3 separate regions of the Homo sapiens genome follow, and regions 1 and 2 are each linked to region 3. The links are contacts of gene promoters, found by promoter capture Hi-C in human tissues and cell types (Jung and others, 2019). All regions are on one chromosome and are shown on one strand. The core of a region is centred on a gene start or on the middle of the fragment in contact, and the rest is flanking DNA. Distances in the headings are between cores, read along the strand shown.

Evidence for each region. The method cuts DNA at HindIII sites, captures the fragments that hold promoters and counts their contacts. A contact is called where the count stands out against the background at its distance.
Region 1: a fragment that was not itself captured here is called in contact with the fragment with the promoter of REEP1 in region 3 in 1 of the 25 tissues and cell types used here (adrenal gland).
Region 2: a contact is called between a fragment that was not itself captured here and the fragment with the promoter of REEP1 in region 3, in 3 of the 25 tissues and cell types used here (bladder, heart right ventricle and neural progenitor cells).

What each region holds. Positions count from the first base shown.
Region 1 is chr2:86,377,092-86,380,826 of GRCh38, reverse strand. No RefSeq gene overlaps it. Among named protein-coding and RNA genes, the nearest start is that of REEP1, 41 kb to the right of the region's middle. The HindIII fragment of the contact is 5,724 bases long and covers 1-3,735 here.
Region 2 is chr2:86,293,093-86,296,431 of GRCh38, reverse strand. All of the region lies in intron 1 of REEP1 (receptor accessory protein 1), which reads left to right. Among named protein-coding and RNA genes, the nearest start is that of REEP1, 43 kb to the left of the region's middle. The HindIII fragment of the contact is 3,803 bases long and covers 142-3,339 here.
Region 3 is chr2:86,335,218-86,339,049 of GRCh38, reverse strand. It overlaps REEP1 (receptor accessory protein 1), which reads left to right and starts at 1,424. Exons shown (of 9, transcript NM_001371279.1): 1 at 1,424-1,571. The coding sequence starts at 1,540. The HindIII fragment of the contact is 14,274 bases long and covers 1-3,832 here.

The DNA.
Region 1 (3,735 bases), core at 293-2,792, 42 kb before region 3:
CTGTAATCCCAGCACTTTGGGAGGGCAAGGTGGGTGGATCACCTGAGGTCAGGAGTCTGGCCAACATGGTGAAATCCCGTCTCTACTGAAAATATAAGAAAATTAGCTGGGCATGGTGGCACGCACCTGTAATCCCAGCTACTTGGGAGGCTGAGGCAGGAGAATCACTTGAACCCAGGAGGCAGAGGCTGCAGTGAGCCAAGATGGTGCCACTGCGCTCCAGCCTGGGTGACAGAGCAAGACTCCATCTCAAAAAAAAAAAAAAAAAAAAAAAGGAATAGCTGTACTTATATTAGACAAGAAACCAAAAATGAGCAGGATATCTATACTAAAATAGACTTTAAGTAAGAATGGCAAAAAAAAAAAAAAAGGCAAAGAAGGCCATTATGTATTTATAAATGAGTCAATAGAGCAAGAGGGTATAAAAATGATAAATACATATATGCCCAACACTGGACATCTAAATATAGAAAGCAAATATATTAATAGACCTAAAGGGAGAGATTGACTGCGATGCCATAATAGTAGGATATTTCAATGGCTCACTTTCAGCAATGGAAAGGTCATCCAGACAGAAAATCAACAAGGAAACATTAGAGTTAAACTACACTATAGACCAAATGGACCCAATGGACATTTACAGAACATTTTATCCAATAGATGCAGAATACACATTCTTATTAGCATATGGAACATTCTCCAGGATAGACCATATGTTAAGCCACAAGACAAGCCACAAAATATTTTTTAAAATCAAGATCATATCAAGTATCTTTTCTGACCACAATGGAATAAAATTAGATATCAATAAGAGAGGAACTTTGGAAACTGTACAAATGCACGTACATTTTACAACATGCTGCTCAATGACCAAAGGGTCAGTGAAGAAATTGAGAAGAAAGTTTAAATATTTATTAAAACAAATGAAAATGAAACACACCATACCAAAACATATGGGACACAACAAAAGTAGTACCGATAGGGAAGTTTATAGCCATAAACACCTACATCAAGAAAGTCAAAAAATGTCAAATAAACAAACTAATGATATACCTCAAGGAACTAGAAAAGCAAGAACAAAACAAATCCAAAATTAGTACGATGAAAGAAATAATAAAGATTAGAGCAGAAATAAATGAAATTGAGACTAAAATAATATAAAAGATTAACATAACAAAAGTTAGTTTTAAAAAAAGGTAAACAAAATTGACAAGCCTTTAGCTAGATTAAGAAATAGAATCTGAGATTTAGAAAATATGTTACATGTGATACCACAGAATACAAGGAATTATTAGAGACTAGTATGAAAAACTATGTGCCAATAAATTGAAAAACCTAGAGGAAATGAGTAAACTCTTAGACACATACAACCTGCTAAGATTGAACCATGAAAAAATAGAAAACATAAACAGGCCAATAATACATAATGAGATTGAATCAGTAATAAAAAGTCTCCCAATAAGACAAGTCAATGACTGGATGGTTTGACTGTTGAATTCTACCAAACTTGCAAAGAAGAATTAATACCAATTCTTCTCAAACTTTTCCAAAAAACTCCAGAGGAGGGAATTCTTTCTAACTCACTCTACAAGGCCAGCATTACCCTGATACCAAAACCAGAGAAGGACACACACACAAAAGAAAACTACAGACTAATATCCCTGATGACCATAGATGCAAAAATCCTCAACAAAATACTAGCAAACTGAATGCAACAGCACATCAAAAAAATAAAACACCATGGTCAAGTAGGACTTATCTAGGGATGCAAAGATGATTCAACATACACAAATCAACAACTGTGATACGTTGCTTGAACAGAATGAAGGACAGAAACCATATGATTATCTCAATAGATGCAGAAAAAGCATTTGATACAATTCAACATTTCTTATGATAAGAACTCTCAACAAATCAGGTATCAAAGAAATGTACTTCAAAACAATAAAGGCCATATATGACAAACTCACACCTAATGTTATACTGAACAGGGAAAATTTGAAAGCCTTTCCACTAAGATCTGGAACAAGACAAGGATGCCTACTTTAACTACTTTTATTCAACATAGCACTGGAAGTCTAAGGTCAGAGCAATTAGGCAAAAAAAAAAAAGAGAGAAAGAAAGAAAGAGAGAGAAAGAAAGAGAGAAAGAAAAGGAAAGGAAAAGAAAAGGAAAGGAAAGGAAAGCAAAGGAAAGGAAAGAAAAGAAAAGAAAAGAAAAGAAAAGAAATGGGACGCCAAGGTGAGCGGATCACGAGGTCAGGAGATTGAAACCATCTTGGCTAACATGGTGAAACTCTGTCTCTACTAAAAATACAAAAATTAGCCGGGCATGGTGGCAGGCACCTGTAGTCCCAGCTACTCAGGAGGCTGAGGCAGGAGAATGGCGTGAACCTGGGAGGCGGAGGTTGCAGTGAGCCGAGATCGTCCACTGCACTCCAGCCTGGGCGGCAGAGCGAGACTCCGTCTCAAAAAAAAAAAAAAGAAAAGAAAAGGGCATCTAAATTGGAAAAGAGAAAATCAAAATCTTCCTGTTTGCAAACAACTTGATCTCATATTTTAAAAATCCTAAAGACTCCACTAAAAAACTGTTAGAACTGATCGATGAATTCAGTAAAGTTGGATAATACAAAAATCAATGTACAAAAATTAGTAACGGCTGGGAGCAGTGGCTCATGCCTGTAATCCCAGCACTTTGGGAGGCCGAGGCAGGAGATCACCTGAGGTCAGGAGTTGGGGAGCAGCCTGACCAACATAGTGAAACCCTGTCTCTCCTAAAAATACAAAAAATTAACTGGGCATGGTGGTGTGGGCCTGTAGTCCCAGCTACTCGGGAGGCTGAGGCAGTAGAATTGCTTGAACCCAGGAGGTGGAGGTTGCAGTGAGCTGAGATCACACCACTGCACTCCAGCCTGTGCGACACAGTGAGACTTTGTCTTAAAAAAAAAAAAGTAGCATTTCTGTACACTAATAGCAAACAATCTAAAAAAATTAAGAAAGCAATTTTATTTATAATAGCTATAAAAATGCCTAGAAGTAAATTTAACCAAGAAAGTGAAAGATATTTCCAATGAAAACTATAAAACACTGATGAAATAAAGAGGACATAAAAAATGGAAAGACATACTATGTTCAGAGGTTGTAAGAAATAATATTATTAAAATGTCCACACTACCCAAAGTGATCTACAGATTCAATGCAATTCTTATTAAAATACCAGTGACATTCTTCACAGAAATAGAAAAAACAATCCAAAAATGTGTATGGAACCACAAGGAGCCTGAATAGCCAAAGACATCATGAGCAAAAAGAACAAAGCTGGAGGCATCACTCTACCTGACTTCAGAATATTCTACAAGGCTACTAGCATAAAAACAGGCACATAGACCAATGAAACAGAATAGAGAACCCAGAAATAAATTCACCGATTTGCTACCTGATTTTCAACAAAAGTGCCAAGAACATATATTAGGGAAAGGACAGTCTTTTCAATAAATGGTGCTGGGACAATTGAAGAATACTTGGAAGAATAAAACTAGACCACTATCTCTCACCATATACAAAAACCAATTCAAGATAGAGTAAAGAGTTAAATTAAAGACGAGAAACAATGAAACTACTAGAAGAAAACAGGAGAAATGTGTTAGGATGTTAGTCTGGGCAAAGATTTTTATGGATAAGACCTCGAAAGCACAGGCAACAAAAACAAAAACAGACAAATGGGATTATATAAAAT
Region 2 (3,339 bases), core at 794-3,293, 43 kb after region 3:
TTTAGTACCTAAGCTTTGAAATCTCACATTCTAGTTCTGGCTCTGCTACAAACTTGGTGTGTGACCTTAGTCCAACTATTTAACTTCTCTGATCCACATTTCCAGTCTGTGAAACGGAAATTATAATCATGTCTACTTCGTAGAGTTTTTGTATGTGCAAATGGATATAAACTGCTAAAAGCTGTGTACAGAGCGTGCATTGTATTGTAACCAGTGCTAATTACTGAGGAGTGCTATACTGGTAACTTTTTTTCCCCAAAGTGTGAAGCTTTCCTTTTTAGTCTTGATTCCTGGATAATAGGACATTCTTCACTTGGACTTTCCCTTATGGTCACCTATGATTGTGGCCATTTGAGGCTCATAAATGGAAAGAATGTATATTGTTTTCATTCTGAAGCAAATAAAACTTCTTACATTTCCATGCTCAGAGCTACCTCTTTCTGTTATTGTCTTGGAATTTTTTTCTCCTTAGTGACCTAGTTTTATCTATTCTCTTCAGATCTGCAAAAGCAAATGGCACAGTTGTTAAAGAGGAATTCTCATTCTGTGGTAGTTGAGAGAAATATCTTTATTTTCTAAACAAAGCAGCTGTGGGCTGGGCGCGGTGGCTCACGCCTGTAATCCTAGCACCTTGGGAGGCCAAGGCGGGCGGATCACGAGGTCAGGAGATCGAGACCATCCTGGCTAACACGGTGAAACCCCGTCTCTACTAAAAACACAAAAAATTAGCTGGGCGTGGTGGTGGGCGCCTGTAGTCCCAGCTACTCGGGAGGCTGAGGCAGGTGAATTGCTTGAATCCGGGAGGCGGAGCTTGCAGAGGCGGAGCTTGCAGTGAGTGGAGATCACACCGAAGCACTCCAGCCTGGGTGACAGAGCAAGACTCCGTCTCAAAACAAAAACAAAACACAAAGCAGCTGTTTGTTATATTTTAACTTTTTAACTATTGTGCAGTATTCCACCATACTTTTTAGAGCATTACCGAGGATTGCCCTTCAAAGCATCAAACATAAAAAATTGTTATCCAAAGGAGGACCTCACCTTCCTTACACAGGGTCTGTATTGCACATGGTGGCCAGGGCCCTTGGAGCTGTGCAGCCAGCAGTGGCTCTCCTAAGTCATCTGCAGGGCAGGTGTGCGAGAGGTACATACGGTGGGTTCCCGCCCCAGTCTCTCTGCTTCCTTCTTCCCCAGGTTGGCCAACTCGGGAGCAAGGTCCAGAACTTCCAGCCAGAAGCGCACTTTAGCAGCTGCGAGCTGCATTTGTTCCCTGATTGTCCTGACTCACTCATAATTAAGACACGTGCTGAAAATTCTCTCAGAATTTAAATTTTGCTCATTGAAGTAAAGCTGCTGTTTTCCAGCTTGCTTTTTTTCTTTTCTTTTCTTTTTTTTTAAAATAGGTTTTGTGTTCTAATCAGGGTGCCATGCTGGACCTGAGCCAAACATCCTTTGTTTCACACAATCCTTGTTCTTCTGTGGGCAGGTGGGACATAGTCCCACCCTCCCCTTCTAGTGAGGTAACAACCGTGCTTTTGTTAGCAGTTCTGAGCCCTTCTGCTGCCAGACAAACCCAGTGGCCTGGAATCATGGTAATTTCTTATGAGCCACACAATTATTTATAACCAAGCCATCTCAGATCCTTTCTGGAACAAGTTAGAAACCTATCTATCTATCTATCTATCTATCTATCTATCTATCTATCTATCTAAAATATAAATCTCAGAAACATTTTAATAGTGTAACTTCTTAATAGAACATAATATACAGCAATGTTTTTTCCTCTACAACCAGAACCAGTAAAAAATATATTTACTTGCATTACTTGTTAATTTTCACTCATCTTAAATGTCATTACAATGGATTGAATAAATTGAGATGTTTGAAAATTTTAGTAAATTTTACAAAATAGCATTGTCGCATCAAACAGATATAAATTGAAAGATTATATATTCTGTTTTCTTATAACTTTTTTAGAAGTAATCTTTTATGGATTAAATGAACTAATGACCTATACTAAGTAAATTCTGTTTTTATAAAATTTTTAACTATGGATGATTTTGAACAAATATTCATGCAGATATTTTTTTGGTTCCTAAATGTCATGAATTTATTTTATTTTAATTGTGATAAAAGCACATGACATAAAATTTACCATCTTAACCATTTTTAAATGTACAGTCAGTAGTGTATATTTATTGCACATTGTTGTACAACCAATCTCCAGAAGCTTCCATCTTGCAAAACTGAAAATTATAACTCCACACCCATTATCAACTCCCTATATCCCCCCAGCCTGTGGCAACCACCATTCTACTTTCTATTTTTATGAGTTTTACTTATCTAGTTAAGGAGTTGAGTTATCTAGAGTAGTCCACTTATAAATGTAATCACTCAGTATTTGCCTTTTTGTGATTGGCCCATTTAACTTAGCATAATATACTCATAGTTCATCCATCTTAGCAAGTGTCAGCGTTTTCTTCCTTTGAAAGGATGAATAATATTCATTATTTATTCATCTGTTGATGGTCACTTGGATTGCTTCCATCTTTTGGCTATTGTGAGTAATGCTGCCATGAACATGGGTATGCAAATATCTTTTTGAGACATAACCATTCTACTCTGTTAACTTGGCTGATTTTAACAGATGGGGAAATCAGTAACTAAACGTATAAGACCAGCCTCACTTGGCAGTGTTTGTTCACATGGTGTCATAGGACTATAAACAGAAGCGATGCAGCCTCAGTACAGCTGAGTGAGGGGGCTGGAAAAACCTGAACTTTCCTGTATAATTTGAATTCAAATCTTGATTTTCCTGATTAAATTTTCTGTATAAATTCCTAATAATTTGCACACAGTGAAATTCACCCTTTTTACTGTATAGTTTTGTGAGCTTTGACAAGTGCATACAGTCATGTAATCACAACCACAGTGTAAATATAGAACAGGTTCATTGCCTCCAAAACTTCCTCCATGCCCCTTTGTAGTCATCATCTTCTTCTACCCCACTGCCAGCCTCTGGCAGCTCATCTGTTTTCTATCTCCGTAGTTTTGCCCATCATCATTTGTCTTTCCTTCCATACTTAGCACACGCAGCTTTGCCTGCCACCTTTCTTGTTCTGATACACCTGGCACCCCGGCCATGTTGTGACTTCCCTGAAGATAAAACCTCTGACTTTGAGGTATCAAGTTGGATTAGAAGAGCAGAGTTTGAAGCCAGATAGAGCATTTGAATCCAGCTCATTCAGTTAGCAGCTCTGTGACCTTGTGTTGGCCTCAGAATCTGACACAGAGTAGGGACTGAATAAATGTCTGTTGGATGAACGAACAAACAAATGAATG
Region 3 (3,832 bases), core at 175-2,674:
GCGCTTCTCACATCTGACACTGAATTATACATGACACCATCATCAGCAAAGGACAGGGCGCTGGGAGCACCACGCAGAACCTAAGCTATTGGAGGGTGGGAAAAGCAGCAGCAGAGCCTAGGAGTAGAGGACAAAGCGTTTCCAGTGTAACAGAATAATGTACTATCTGCGGCCGGGACTAGGGTGAGCAGAGTGAGGCGCTCAGTGAGGGTGCAACATTTAAGAGGTGCCATAAAATTCAGCAACTAAAATACATAATAGGTGGCTCACTCCTGTAATCCCAGCACTTTGGGAGGCCAAGGCGGGCGGATCACGAGGTCAGGAGTTTGAGACCAGCCTGGACAACATGGTGAAACCCCGTCTCTACTAAAAATACAAAAATTAGCTGGGCGTGGTGGCGCACTCCTGTAATCTCAGCTACTCATGAGGCTGAGGCAGAAGAATCGCTTGAACCCGGGAGGCGGAGCTTGCAGTGAGCCGAGATCGCGCCACTGCACCCCAGAGCGAGACTCTGTCTCATAAAAAAACAACAACAACAAAAAAAACCACCATAATATTTAATACGGTATTTTAAAAAATACATAAAAACGTTTATATAGGGTGCACAAGTTCCCTTTTGCCTAAGAGTTCAACGTGGCTCAGCGGGGCACTGGTGCTAAGCAGTCGCAGCTTCTAGTCTCCTCCTAGGGCCCGGAGCAGCCCCCAAGGAAAGGCCTTCCCTAGGAAGAAGTAGCCCTTCAGCCCAGCCTAGAAGAAGGAGCTGAATCAAACCAAGGCAGGACGATGAGGCGTGGCGTGTACTGACAGGGAAGAAGAAACAGCAAATATTTGAGTCCAAGATGCCTGGAGGGAAAAGAGCTAGAGGACTATTTGGGGGAATGGTCTTGGCAACACGGTTCTAGGCAGGTACCACGATCATATAGGGACTCTGTAGAATTTTAAGTAGGGAGGCAAGCGCCCAGGTTTGTTTCTTATGCAGAAAGTGCTGAGCAACGGACAGACTGAAGAGGTTAGGTCTGGATCCAGGTAAACCCTTTATGAGGCTAACGCACTAGCTGAATGAGGGATGACAGCATCCCACCTAGACAGGTGCAGACAGATTCCCGAGGTTCAGGTTCGGACTTCAGTTTCTCCGCTGGAACGCTGAGGGTGGGGCAGCACCCGGGTCCCTGCCCTGCAAACGGGGCCGCTGCAGGGTTCCTTTGGCGGGGCCGGTGCCCCGGGGAGCGCGCAGGACGCGCCCGCCTTCAGCCGGGGGCCAGGGCGAGCGGGACGGGGCGGGCCCGCGGGTGCCCTGACCAGCTCACCGCCCAATCGCTGCGGGCCCGCCGAGCCCCGGGGGGCTGGGGCCGCCGCCGCCGCCGCCAGAACGTGCCGCGGCTGCGCCAACGCGCGAACGCCGGGCAGGGCGGCGGGCGCGCTCAGTCTGGCGGCGGCTGCCGTGAGCTGACTGACGTTCCGGGAACGCCGCAGCAGCCCGCGCCGCCCGCAGCCTAGCCGAGCCGCGCCGCCCGGGCCTCGCCCGCCCGCCTGCCCGCCATGGTGTCATGGATCATCTCCAGGCTGGTGGTGTAAGTGGCCTTCTCCCCCGCGCCCCTCCGTCCCCTCCCTCCCCGCCCCCGGCCCCGGGCTGCGCGCGCCCCTACAGCGCCCGGTCCCAGTGGCTCGGGCTATTAATACCCGGCGCAGCTAAATTTAGCAGGTACAGTAGCCGCCGAGGACGCCTGCGGGCGGACGGGCGGCGCAGGACGCGGCTGCTGCCCAGGAGGCAGCCGGCGCCGGCGGCCGCTTGCGGGGGGCTGGGCCGGGACGGCGAGGGCTGGGGCGCTCGGGGGTTCCGTGGGGGCTGCGTCTCGCCGCGCGCTGGCCGCTTTGTTCCTCAGCTCGGTCGATTTGCAGAGGCCCCGAATGGGCGCACCGCGGACACGCGTCTCTCTCCTTTGGCAGAAATGTGAGGTCGCCCGGCGCCGCGCCCCGCCGCCCCAGCTTTTGTCAGGTGGAAAGGACAGCGCAGACGAACCAGGGGCGCTGCCTGGAGGGTCAGCGCGGAACGGGTGGAGAGGCAGAGGCGGGGCTCCCAGTGGGGTTGGAAAAATCCTCCTTTTTAGGTGTCTGCATCGACAGCGGCAAAGGCAGCTGGGACATGGGAAGACGCATGTGAATCTTGGAGTAAACGCCTGGAGCCCCCGGCTCCGACTCCTTTTGCAGGGGATTGAGAGACAGGGGCAGGTACCTCCAGGAATGCACGGGAAATTTTCAAGTGACAGCCACCCGCATGGTGGCGATGACACCTCCCAGGCCTTGCAGGAGAGCGCAGAGTCATCTAGGGTGAGGTCTGTGTGAAGTCATTGGGGGTGGGCGTGGGGGCCGATTTTCTCCTTCAAGCCCCAGGACCTGTAGGCGTTTGAAGAGCTTCCCCGGTGGATTTATTCTCCTTTGGAGATAGACGTGGCTGTTCCAAGTCCCTGTTCTTCCCTAACCATCCTGGCCTGAGTCAGAACAGATTTGCCACCTGCTGTAGCTAGCAGGGGCTGAAATGGGTGTGGGGAGTCTAAGGCGGGGAGGAGGGTGGCAGGCACCTCGGGCTTTTTCTTTGTCTGAGAACACGGGGCTCTGGACCCCAGTGATTGTGCACCATCACTCCCCACGTTTTGAAACACCACCCATCTCCCTTCCCTTCTTTACTGATTTTCCCTTCCGAAGTGGATCTCAGCATTGTCTCCCGCCACCATTCAGGGCTTTCCTCCCAAAGCCAGTGTCTGTGCCTCTCAGCCCCCAAGTCATTCCGTGAAGGCCTCTCCACAGCTGTTCCTGACTGCGGGGTGTTTGCGCTGCACCTTGAGGTGGCATGTTAAATATTTAGAAGATTTCTGCTGGCAGAGCCGACATGAATAATACAGGAAAGTGGCTGACACGCCTTGCCCAGCCTCATGCCTGACCAACACTGTCTTGCCTTCAGGGTGGTGTTTCCTCTCTGGGATCGATATTGCCAGTGGCTTCTGGGAAGCCCTCAGGGTGGGGCTGGAGAGTTGAGCTGGCCTGGCTGGTGGGCTCTCTGTAGGTCCTGCTGGGCTGGGAGTGAGGGCATCTGATCCTGGGTCATGTGACTATCATTAGTTTTATTAGCACTGGGTCATGTGACTATCATTAGTTTTATTAGCACCTCCCTCACCCCTGCCCTTTTTTTTTTTTTTTTTTTGAGACCGAGTCTCGCTCTGTCGCCCAGGCTGGAGAGTGCAGTGGCACAGTCTCGGCTCACTGAAGCCTCCGCCTCCTGGGTTCAAGCGATTCTCCTGCCTCAGCCTCCCGAGTAGCTGGGATTACAAGCGCCTGCCACCACGCCCAGCTAATTTTTGTATTTTTAGTAGAGACGGGGTTTCACCATGTTGGCCAGCCTGGTCTTGAACTCCTGACCTAGTGATCCGCCCGCTTCGGCCTCCCAAAGTTCTGGGATTACAGGCGTGAGCTACCACGCCCGGCTCCTCCCCCTTTTTTACAATGAGCAACTGATGGGGGTGGAGAGGAGAGGCATATATTTGGGAGGTGTCTCAGGGATGTGCTGTTGCTTTCTAAAACAACCACACTCCCTAGAACCGAGACTTCAGAGAATTTAAATGAACAGCATTATGTGGCCCAAGGAGAGTTGATGGGATTTGGGATTGTTACTTCCACTATCAAGTCCAAAAGGTCAGGGATACCACTTATCCCCCAGTCCCTAATTCCCTGTAGAAACCTAGCATAAGCATATTGATTATGAGTTATGAACATCATTTTTAATAAGCAATACCTGTTTCATGAAGACAATATTTGTTAATTACAGGAAAATTAGAAA